Regions from separate parts of the Homo sapiens genome. Here all the other regions are linked to region 2. The links are contacts of gene promoters, found by promoter capture Hi-C in blood cells and fetal thymus (Javierre and others, 2016). All regions are on one chromosome and are shown on one strand. Each heading gives the region's core, a stretch centred on a gene start or on the middle of the fragment in contact. The rest is flanking DNA. Distances are from core to core; before and after follow the strand shown. Region 1 overlaps ARHGAP27 (Rho GTPase activating protein 27). Region 2 holds the start of SPATA32 (spermatogenesis associated 32). Region 3 overlaps PLCD3 (phospholipase C delta 3).

What was found. The method cuts DNA at HindIII sites, captures the fragments that hold promoters and counts their contacts. A CHiCAGO score of 5 or more calls a contact.
Region 1: a fragment that was not itself captured here is called in contact with the fragment with the promoter of SPATA32 in region 2 in 15 of 17 cell types (activated CD4 T cells, monocytes, non-activated CD4 T cells and 12 more); the score reaches 12.1 in activated CD4 T cells.
Region 3: a fragment that was not itself captured here is called in contact with the fragment with the promoter of SPATA32 in region 2 in 1 of 17 cell types (neutrophils); the score reaches 6.5 in neutrophils.

The regions. Positions count from the first base shown.
Region 1 is chr17:45,404,312-45,407,890 of GRCh38, forward strand. It overlaps ARHGAP27 (Rho GTPase activating protein 27), which reads right to left. Exons shown (of 20, transcript NM_001282290.2): 5 at 1,365-1,772; 6 at 613-795; 7 at 290-370; 8 at 134-217; 9 at 1-23. Among named protein-coding and RNA genes, the nearest start is that of ARHGAP27, 27 kb to the right of the region's middle. The HindIII fragment of the contact is 9,114 bases long and covers 1-3,579 here.
Region 2 is chr17:45,260,716-45,263,926 of GRCh38, forward strand. It overlaps SPATA32 (spermatogenesis associated 32), which reads right to left and starts at 1,379. Exons shown (of 5, transcript NM_152343.3): 1 at 1,289-1,379. The coding sequence starts at 1,301. It overlaps MAP3K14 (mitogen-activated protein kinase kinase kinase 14), which reads right to left. Exons shown (of 16, transcript NM_003954.5): 16 at 2,404-3,211. All of the region lies in intron 2 of MAP3K14-AS1 (MAP3K14 antisense RNA 1), which reads left to right. RefSeq lists silencers at 1,023-1,142, 1,213-1,262 and enhancers at 1,211-1,816, 1,293-1,382, 1,817-2,420. The HindIII fragment of the contact is 9,151 bases long and covers 1-3,211 here.
Region 3 is chr17:45,120,381-45,124,041 of GRCh38, forward strand. It overlaps PLCD3 (phospholipase C delta 3), which reads right to left. Exons shown (of 15, transcript NM_133373.5): 2 at 831-992; 3 at 522-750; 4 at 1-74. Among named protein-coding and RNA genes, the nearest start is that of MIR6784, 7.8 kb to the left of the region's middle. RefSeq lists an enhancer at 389-926. The HindIII fragment of the contact is 925 bases long and covers 1,117-2,041 here.

The sequences.
Region 1 (3,579 bases), core at 703-3,202, 140 kb after region 2:
ACCTCATCCAGCTCTGCTGGGACCTATGGGGGAAGACAGATAGATCCCACCAAGTCCCTCCTCCCAGGAACTCCAGAAGCCCCCCACTGCTTCTGTGGTGGTCCTGCCAGGACCTCAATGGCTCCTCCCCTACCTTCTCCTCTGGAGGGCTGGCCTGGGCTGGGGTGTCACCATCCTGGCTGGATTTATGGATGCTTCGAGGGGCAGGGACAGGGACCTGGGGAGAAAGACACAGTCGTATATGATCTCTTCCTCTCTCCCCAACACCCCCCTTTCCCCAGGTTGTTACCTGGGGCAGCTCCCATCGAACAGAGGAGTCCTCTGGATTGTAGAAGTATGGCTTCCCGTGGGGGTCCTCCAGCCTCACCCACTGTGGGGAGAGGAATGGTCAGGGCCTCCAGCCCAGCTTATGAGAGGGGAGGAAAAGTTTCCCTCTAACCAGGTTCCAAGACAGCACCAGGGAGTCTGGAGGGGCAGGTGCAGGTGACTGTGTTTGGCTGGTTTAGGCTCTGTGTGGGAGCTGCGGTTTAGAGCACTGAGGCGACCTATTAGTGAGGAAGGTTGTGGGGAGGACTCTGAGGCTGTCCGGGTCCATCTGCCCCCTGCCCCTACCTGCTCCTGAGTGAAGTGGTTGGTGTAGAGCATCTGCTTGTCCTGGCTGACATGACAAGACCAGCCGGGGGGTGTGGTCAAGGGAGAGGTAGGGCCGGGCTCACCGAAAGAGCCCACGGGAGAATAGTCCTCCTCGGGGTAACTGGTCAGCGACTCGGGGTAGTCCGTCTCGGGAGTGGGGGGCTGCGGGGAACAGAAGGTGGAGTCAGAGGCTCTGAGTGCCAGTACTGCCTGCTGGCCCTGCCGTTTTGGACCAGGCCCACCCCCTTGCCTTCTGGTCCCTGAGGCTGTGGGAGCAGGAGGCGGGGTCAGAAGCGCTCAGAGGTAGCTCCGCACCTCACCCTCTGGTCCCTGGGGCTGTGGGAGCAGAAGGCGTCAGAGGTAGCCCCGCCCACTCCAGCCCTGCCCCTCACCTTCTGGTCCCTGGGTCTGCAGAAACAGGAGGCGGGGTCAGAAGCGCTTAGAGGTAGCCCCACCCATCCTGCCCCACCCCTCACCCTCTGGTCCTTAGGTCTGTGGGAGCAGGAGGTGGGGTCAAAGGCGCTCAGAGGTAGCCCCGCCCACTCCAGCCCCGCCCTTCACCCTGGGGTCCCTGGGTCTGTGGGAGCAGGAGAAGGGGTCAAAGGCTCTCAGAGGTAGCCCCGCCCACCCATCACCACCCCCTCACCCGTGTGTCCCTGGGCCTCTGGGAGCAGGAGGCGGGATCAGAGGCGCTCAGAGGTAGAACCGCCCACTCTGGCCCTGCCCCTCACCCGCGGGTCCCCTGGGCTGCCAGGGCTCAGGCCCGGCTGCATCTCCAACTCCTCCTCGGGCTCGTTCTCGGCCTCGTCCTCCCAGGCCGTCTCGCCCGTCAGCGGGTTGTAGAAGAACACCCTGCGGCTCTCCTCATCCCAGTACTGGCCCCACTCGGTCTCAAGGCTCACGTGGCTGTCCACCGAGGCAGGGGAGGTGGCTGGGCTGGCGGCACCCTCGGCAGCCTCAAAGGGCGACTCCCAGGTGGTAACTCCCGTGTCTGGGTTGTAGTAGTAGGGGCGCCCGGTGCCCGCGTCCGTGTGCGTCTCCCACACCGGGCTGGGAAGGGGGGCTGCAGCGGCGCCCGGTGAAGTGGCCCGGGGCTGCCTCTCTATGTTCGCGTACACGGGCTCCGGTGGGTCGTCCACCTGCGGGAGGAGAAAGGAGGAATTTTGTGTTTTCAGAAACCTTCCAAAATGGTAACAGAGGTCCCCTCTGGGCAGTGCGATTATAGGGGTTTATTTGTTTTCGCTTTATTTTCTTTAAACTTTTCTGCAGCCTCAAAATTTTGTACAACAAAGCATTTTAAAAATCACGTAAGTTCTTCTGCTCACTGTGACACCATCACTAAGCCGTAAACTCCTTGAAAGGGGAAGTGCCTGTTAGAAGTGGCCTCTTCTTGAGCTTTAGCCCCTTGGGCGACCTTCAGGAAGTCACACTACCTCTCTGCCTCAGTTTCCTGGGTGTAAAATGTCTGCTCTGTCCATTCCGGAAACTGTAGTGAAGAGTGAATGAGGAAATGCTCTTGAAAGTACTTTGTAAAGTATTTAGTGCCCCAGACGGGTGGGTCAATTACATTAATTATATTTATCAATAATAATAAAACATCGATAACCCAGTTCTCACAACTGTGCACTCACAGAGGCAAGTCAGAGGTTGGGCAGGAACTGAGAAGTGGTCTGGGGCGTGCCCCTGTTTATGGTGCCCATTCAGGGCCCTGCTGCATTCTTTTTTTTGAGATGGGGTCTAGCTCTGTCACCCAGGCTGGAGTGCAGTGGCGCAATCTTGGCTCACTGCAACCACCACCTCCTGGATTCAAGCTGCATTCTTACAGCTCCACTGAGAGCTCCCACCCCACCCCACTCTCAGCCCAGAAAGCTCTGGGATTGGAATCAGCACCCTGTCTGGATTTGGGGACTGAACTTTCCAAGGTGAAGTTTGCAGGTGTCAGAACCAATTCCAGACAAGAGAGGGAGACAGGACAGCCAGATGGGCTGGAGAATGGAGGGGCAAAGAGAGGTGAATTGTTTTACTCCACCCCAAAGGAGAGTGAGGGCAGCTGGGGGTTCAATCACATAGAACATAAACCTAGCCATGCGTAAGCCTCCCGGAACAGAGGCTCTCCTGATTCACACCTCAGAGCTCCCTGCTGGCTGCAGGGCAAAGTCTAAGCCCTTAACCAGGCACAAGAGACCGTCCCTCACCGGCCTGTGCTTCCACTATTATTTCCTGCCACTCCTTGCCCCTTGCCTTGAACTTTAAGCTCCAGTAGCACCAGTTGCTAGAGGTCCCCACCGTCCCTGCTGTGTTTCCTCCAGGCCTAGGCTCATCTGCAGCCTGCCCAGGCCCATCTCCACCCCTTTTTTTGCCTGGCTGACTCCAATTCCTTCTTCAGGATTCAGCTGAGGTGCCAGGTTCCAGCCTTTTCCTGAGATTCCCCCCATCCCCGTGCCCCCACATTCAGCCCAGCACCCTTGGCCCCACAGAGGGACAGATGACTACATTCTCAAACCCCAGGCAGCAGCATGGCATACGGAGATTACTACTATTTTCTTTTCTTTTCTTTTTCTTTTTCTTTTTTTTCTTTTTTTTTTTTTGAGATGGAGTCTCGCTCTGTCGTCCAGACTGGAGTGGAATGGTGTGATCTCGGCTCACTGCAACCTCCGCCTCCTGGGTTCAAGCGATTCTCATGCCTCAGCCTCCCAAGTAGCTGGCATTGCAGGCACGCACCACCACGCCTGGCTAATTTTTGTATTTTAGTAGAGATGGGGTTTTGCCCTGTTGGCCAGGCTGGTCTTGAACTCCTGACCTCAGGTGATCCGCCCACCAGGGCCTCCCAAAGTGCTGGGATTACAGGTGTGAGCCACCGCACCTGGCCAATTACTACTATTTTCTAAGCATACACAATACTTCAGGGGAAAGCAGATTTCCACATTTCAATTTTGTGTTTTCGGA
Region 2 (3,211 bases), core at 129-2,628:
GGACCACTGCAACTATGTCCCCCTCCAACCTGGATTTTCAATGACCTCAGAGTGAGCCTGCTACATCTCACTTGTCTCCGGTTACCCCCAGACTCCATGTGGCCTCTTGGTCTGATCTCTACCTTCATTTTTCATCTCTTGGCATCCAGCTTCCTGTCCCTCACCCTAAGCCGAAGCTACCCCCAGAGTACCGCAGGCCTTTCTGCACCCAGTGCCTTTGCAAATGCTATTTCTTATACCTGGAAAGCCTTCTTCTGGCAAAGTCCTACTCATGCCTGAAAGCCCAATTCAAATAATCAGTGTAATCCTCTCCATGACAGACCTGGCTGTCTAATCTACGTTTTACCTTACAGGCGTGAGCCACTGCACCCGACCTCTGGTTTTTTTTTTTTTTTTTTTGACAGGGTCTTGCTCTGTGGCCCAGGCTGGAGTGGCAGCATCATAGCTCACTGCAACTCCTGGGCTCCAGTGAGCCTCCCAGCTCAGCCTCCCAAGTAGCTGGGACTACAGGCTCATGCCGCCACACCTGTCTAATTTTAAACATTTCCTGTAGAGGACAAAGTCTCGCTATGTTGCCTAGGCTGATCTTGAACTCCTGGCCTCATGTGATCCTCCCACCTCTGCCTCCCGAAGTGTTGGGATTGCAGGCGTTGAGCCATCATGCCCACCTAATTTTTGACCGTTTTTAATGCTGGCCCATGCCCTTCTGGGAGAGAGGATCCCCAAAAGAAAGCCACCATTTCAGTGGGGGATCTGACGCCCCTATGGGAAGGGGAGACACAGGGCACTGGGGGCAAACATCTTTGCTCATTGGTTCAGAGAAGAGTACAAGGCATCAACGAAGCGCTCCGTAAAAATGTGCTGAAGACTGCCGCTCCTCCCTGCAAAGCCTCAAGCATCAAGGAGGGACAACTGGATGTGATTTTTTGGATCTGCAGTTCAGGATAATTCATGAGTCGTTTCCTGTGCACAAGGCCATTGCTCCTTCTGTGGTCTCAGAACCCCTTCAAGAACCACTGACTCTGCAGTCCCTACTCCAAGGCGCGCATGCGTGTCCGTGAGAGCACATGGGTGTGCACCGCGCAGGGGCTGAGGCTGGGAGCCGTAGTCAGGGGCACCGGGTGGGCTTTGGCGGCGGGTCGACCTGCCTTTCAGGTGCCGGGGGTTTGGGAGCAGGGGAACGGGCCCTGGGCGGATTCCTGACCGCCCCCTTCGCGCCCCTCCCCCTCTCACTTTCGCTTTCCCCGCCTGCCCCAACCCTCGCCCCCGGGCGCTCGGCCGCTCCCACCTGTCACCCCCATGCAGACCGAGGCTCTGTCCTGGAGGCGGGGAGCGGGCTGGTGGATGCTGCCTCTCCGCCTCCAGTGTGCTCTTTGGCTGAGGGACTGGTGGGCGCTGGAAATATTAGAGGCGCCGGTGCCTGTGATGTCGCCGCCTCTGTGACGTCCCCGCCGCGACCCCACAGGCAGGGAGCCGCATTTAGGTTTCGGGCGGGCGGACGGGGGACGGCCCGAGTGAGGCGTCCTCCGAAGGCTGCGGGCCCGAAGCCAGAACTCCTTCCTCTCCGAAGACCTCGGGGGTGGGGCTCGCGCTTCCGCAGCGGGCCTAGAGCGAGAGGCAGGCGGCAGGTAAGCCTGGCTGTGCTGGACAGGACTTGCACCCGCTCTGCACGCCAGCGGCTCAGGGCTGCCGCCCTTTTCGTGGTCCCAGGGCCCTTCCAAGAACCGGCTAAACCAACCCAAGCCGCGCGCACACACACTTGTGCACACAGGGAGTGTGGAGCCAGATTCGATAAGGCACCCCGTGTGCCCCAGCTCCATGACCAAGGAACTCAGCACCCCGTGTGCCCCAGCTCCATGACCAAGGAACTCAGCACCCCGTGTGCCCCAGCTCCATGACCAAGGAACTCAGCCCACAAAGGCATCCCTGGCCCCATGCAGGGCTCAGGAGGCAGCGGAAAGGGTTAAGAGTCCAGGCCTCAAGGACAGGAGGGGAGGGTGGAGGGCCTGTGGTGTGCATCCGGCATCCCTGGATGGTCAGGGCCCAGAACCCATCCCTATTTCCCTTCTGGTGGTAGGGGGCTGCCTAACTTGGGCAGTGGCACAAAGCATGCAGGCTTTGTTGTCCTCCTCCTCCACCCCTCAGCCTGGCATATTTTGGCGAGGGACTTCCCTGATGCCACCGGGCAAGGTATCTTGCCTAACTGGTCTGAATGACTAGCCCAGCGTTGGGACTAGAAGCAGCCACTGGGAGGAGTGGTGGGAAAGCAGCCCCACTCAAGGGCTGAAACAGTCCTTGTCCAAAACAAGGGGGACTTGAAAAGATCTCAGCAAGAAGGCAAAGAGAGGCAGCTGTTAGGGTCGTGAGGTTCAGCAGGCCGGCAGGCAAGAGAGAGGACACCGATGGCCTGGAAACATTTGTCATCACCCCAAACTTTATTGCTTACAAAGAGTTCTCTACAACCCAGACTCTGCAGTACCAAGGCTGCAGTTCTTTATGTGCTGGGGGCCGGGGCTCTCTCCCCGGGAGCAGTCTGACTCAATGTGGACAGCTGGACAAAGGCTGTCTTGGCAAGATGTGGGAATGAGCTTCTCCCACGGAGTCTCGGCGTCCCCTGCCCCAGGAGGTTGAGGCTAGCAGACACCCCCTGACGATTCACAGCTGATTTAATGCTACGTGAGTCCTGAGTAGCTCCCCTGGGAGAAGAGGCTAAGCTGGGGCAATGGGGAAGGGGGTGCTATTCTTAGAGAAATCTGGAAGAGGTTTGAGGAGTCACATGCATGTGGACAGCTCAAGACTGTGTCCCTTCACCCCATCTCCTGGCTTGCTATGCTCCTACAGTGTCACTGCCCTGCCCTGCCCTGCCAGAGGGCAGCCATGAAAGTGCTTTGAGGTCATCAGAGTGCAAAGTGCCGTCGGCAGTACCCTCTGGCCAGGGGCAGGGCAGGGTGAGTGTCAGTGTGATGCTGAGCTGTGCTCTGGGGAACCAGCACGCTGGACACTGATAGTGGGGCTGGGGCGCCGGAGCGTCTCTCTCTGCTGCTTTCCTTAGCACTGATCATGTCCATCCACAGACTGTTCCTGTCAGGCATATCCTGCATCACCCTTCACCTTTACAGATGAGGGAACTGAGTGCCAGCGAGTCTGGGGCAGTGCTGGGCCTGAAGGGGCTCGGGGCCTGCTGCTCTGGGGAAGAGTGGTAGCCAGCAGC
Region 3 (3,661 bases), core at 329-2,828, 140 kb before region 2:
GGCTCTTGATCTCCTTGAAGCTCATCTTGCTGTCCTGGTTGGAGTCAGCCCGGTGCAGATAGGAGTGGATCCAGGTGTGGGTGCTCAGGAAATAACAGCAACACGCCAGGCTGCCCCCAGCCCTCAGGTAACTGGCTGGTAAGTCACCCCCACCTGGGTCTGGGGGATCCCCAGTTTAGGGGCTGTACTTTCCCCTTGGCCTGTGCACTCCCCGAGCACGGTAGCAGTGTCTCCTCCGCAGGACTGGGGCTTACCAAAGACAGGAGGCCCTGTCTTCACCCTCAGAAGGCCTCAGGCCTCCCTGAAGGAGGCGCCGCGCCACCCCTCCTGGTGGGAGCTTGGGCCTAGCCAGGGCGCGTGTCCCCACCCTCAGTTTCGAAGACCAAGGGCTCCGACCCAGACCGTGCGCCCTCAGGACAGGGCCCTGCCTTCCCTGGGCGTGGGGGCTCTCCAAGGATGGGGCTCTCCAAGGTTAGGGCTCTCCAAGGATGGGGCCCTCCCTCCCAGCCCCGGCAGGATATTGGTCTAGCCGCTCGCGCTGGCTCATGGCGTCCAGGCGCGCGCGGAGCTTGGTCAGACCGCGCACCCAGCGCTGCGCTTCCTCAGCCGTGGGCGCCGCCAGGTCCAGGTTCTTGCGGCGGCCCTTGAAGGCGATGGTGAGGCAGCGCGCTGGCGCGAAGGCACCCCCGAAGCGCCGCAGGCCCTCGGACTGGTGGCCCTCGCGGACCGCCTCGATGTGCTGCACGAAGACTGAGAGGAGGGCCGGGTCAGGGCGGAGGACCGGGCCTGTCCCCACCTCCCTGTCCGCCCGGCGCTCCCCGGCCTCTCACAGATGTGCTGCGATGGCGCACGCGGGATGCGCCGCTGGAACCACACGCTCAGGCCGTCCTCCTGCAGCCGGTACAGCCGCTCCTTGTGCCACGTGCGCGAGCGGATCTTGCGGAGCCGGGAGCCCCGCAGCATGGCGCGCACGTCCTCGTCCTCCGTCAGGCCTGGCGGGGCGGGAGGACCCGGGGCGTCAGGCCGTACCTGCCCAGAGGCTCCCCTGCCCTCCCCCGCTAGGACCTGCTGCCCCATCCTCCAGCCTCTCCAAACCCAGGCCTTCATCCCACAGTAAGCTTCCCTCCCCCTCACAGGACTCCCCTCCTCCCCGATTGTAAGAAGCCTCCTGCACTGGGTTTGGCTTTAGGCTTTGGAGCCCTAAACGCCCCCCAACCCGTACCCCATCTCCCTCCTTCCTTCCAAGCAGCGGCCTCTGCAGTCCCTCAGTGTGGAACTGCCCTCGGACAATGCCTGGGACTCAGGCCTCACTAAAGGTTGCCCTTTCTGGCAGGGCGCGGTGGCTCACGCCTATAATCTCAGCACTTGGGAGGCCGAGGTGGGTGGATCACTTGAGGTCGGGAGTTCGAGACCAGCCTGGCCAACATGGTGCAACCCCACCTCTACTAAAAATACAAAATTAGCTGGGTGTGGTGGCACATGCCTGTAATCCCAGCTACTTAGGAGGCTGAGGTTGCCATGAGCCAAGATTGTGCCACTGCACTGCAGCCTAAGCGACAGAGTGAGACTGCGTCTTAACAAAAAAAAAAAAAAATTGCCTTTTCTGCCACTATCCCCCACCACATGGCTTCCAGCCTTCAAGTCCAGAATTTGCCACCAACAGCCTTTTTCCCTTGATGTGAAACCGTAGCCATCAGGAAGGTCTCACCATCTAACCTAGATCTCTCTTGCTGTAACCCAAGCACCTTGCCTCTGCTTTCCCAAAGACAAGGAGGACAGCAGAGGCCACCCTGGCTCCAGGGTCACAGGCCAAGGACTCCAGGATCAGCCCTGCCCAGCTGATCTCCAGGCATGGGAGGCTGAGGCATGAGAATCACTTGAATCCGGGAGGCGGAGGTTGCAGTGAGCCAAGATTGCGCCACTGCACTCCAGCTTGGGCAACAGAGTGAGACTCTGTCTCTAAAAAATAAATAAATAAAAGCATCTCCTGTGTGCAGGCCCTGCTCATGTACTAATAGACAAGGAAACTGAGGCTCAGGGAAGCTTAAGTAAGTTGTCAGAATTCCATACTGGTAGAAGCCACTTTGGGCTCTGGAGGTCGGGGTCCAGCGCCTCTGACCTTTGGCCCTGCACTGCACGGCTCTTCTAGTGCTTCTAAATTCCGAAGTCTGGGGAGTAAGTCTCAACACTGTCACTTCCCAGTTATTTAATACATGGCCCCAGTGGCACTAACCTGTCACTAAGCCTCATGTTCTCCATCCATAAAATGGAGACCACAATCATACCTGCTGCAAAATCCAAAATTCAGAGGTTTCTACAGCGTGACCGACACTGTGCCCCGGAGAGTTTCGGCCCTCTCCTGGCTCTGGCCCCCTGGAACACGTGATGCCCAGCCCAAACAGTGCCACACCCTGCTCTACAATGCCTCAACGAGAGTCACAACCAAAGATTTTTGAGTCAGAGGACAATAGAGGAGGTGGGAACTGGGTAAACGGAGAGTCCATGGCCTTTGGAGGTGGGGCACAGCCCGGAGTGAATGAGGGCCCAGAGTTTCCAGAGAACCGAATATAGATCTGTGTGTGAAGCCTCCAGATATTCTAATGTTGACAACGAAATCAAATTGAAAAAAAATAAAAATCAATAACCCCTGTGTGGGCCAAAAGAAGTAAGACAGAGGGCCTCTCTTCCTCCCTTTATTTCGACAAGCCCCTAATACTGGGTTTGGCTTTGTGACCCCAAGGCCCTGGCTTGCCCAATTGCAAATTCTGACCTAAGGAATTGAGTCTATATCTCTGGACCATCTCCTCTCACCCTCTCTTGGACCCTTTTGTAGGATCCTTCTCCCTTCTCTTCCTCCTATCTGAGTCCTTGAAGGACCAGTTCAGATATCACCTCCTCCAGGAACCCTTCCTTGATTTGTCCTCAAGTGGACATTCTCCCTCTCTGACCACTAACAGCACTTTTTGCTTTAATTAAAATAAAACACAAAACCCACCTATATACTTTAATAAATCTGAGGGCGGAATGAGGTCTTATCTCCTCACCACAGTGCTCATCCCAGAGCCAGGATACCAGCTAGTGTTGACTGAAGGGGCAGACAGGTAGACGGACAGATGGGGGGACTAAGTGAATTCTATCCCCAGCTCTGCCCCATCTGTCCAGAGTTCAGGACAGAGGCCTCGCAGGGCAGAGGCCTCGCAGGTCAGGGTTTCTCAACCTTAGCTGTGCATCGGAATTACCCAGGGGAGGCTGCAGACACCACAGCCCAGGGCATCTCACCCAGCTGGTGTGGGATGGGGCCTGGGCATCTGTATTTTTAAAACCCACTTTGACCATGACTGAAAATCAGGGTCTCAGGGGCAAGAGGAGAAATCCACCTCCTTAAGAGGCCATGACCCCTTGGGGCCAGCCTGTGGCCCTAACAGCTCCAGAGGGTCCCTCAGGGTCTAGACTGTGGCCCTCTGAGTGAATGCCCACTCGGTACCCCCTGGTCAGGAAGGGGAAAGTGGAACCCTCCTCTTTCCAGACAAAGAGCTGGGTGTACACGGCACGTGCCAGGCCGAGGGGCTCACCAGACCCCCCCCCCAACCAGGTCCAGGTAGCCTCTAAATGGTCCCATCCTGAGCAATGACACGGTGAGGGCAGAGGGGAGCCTGCAGCG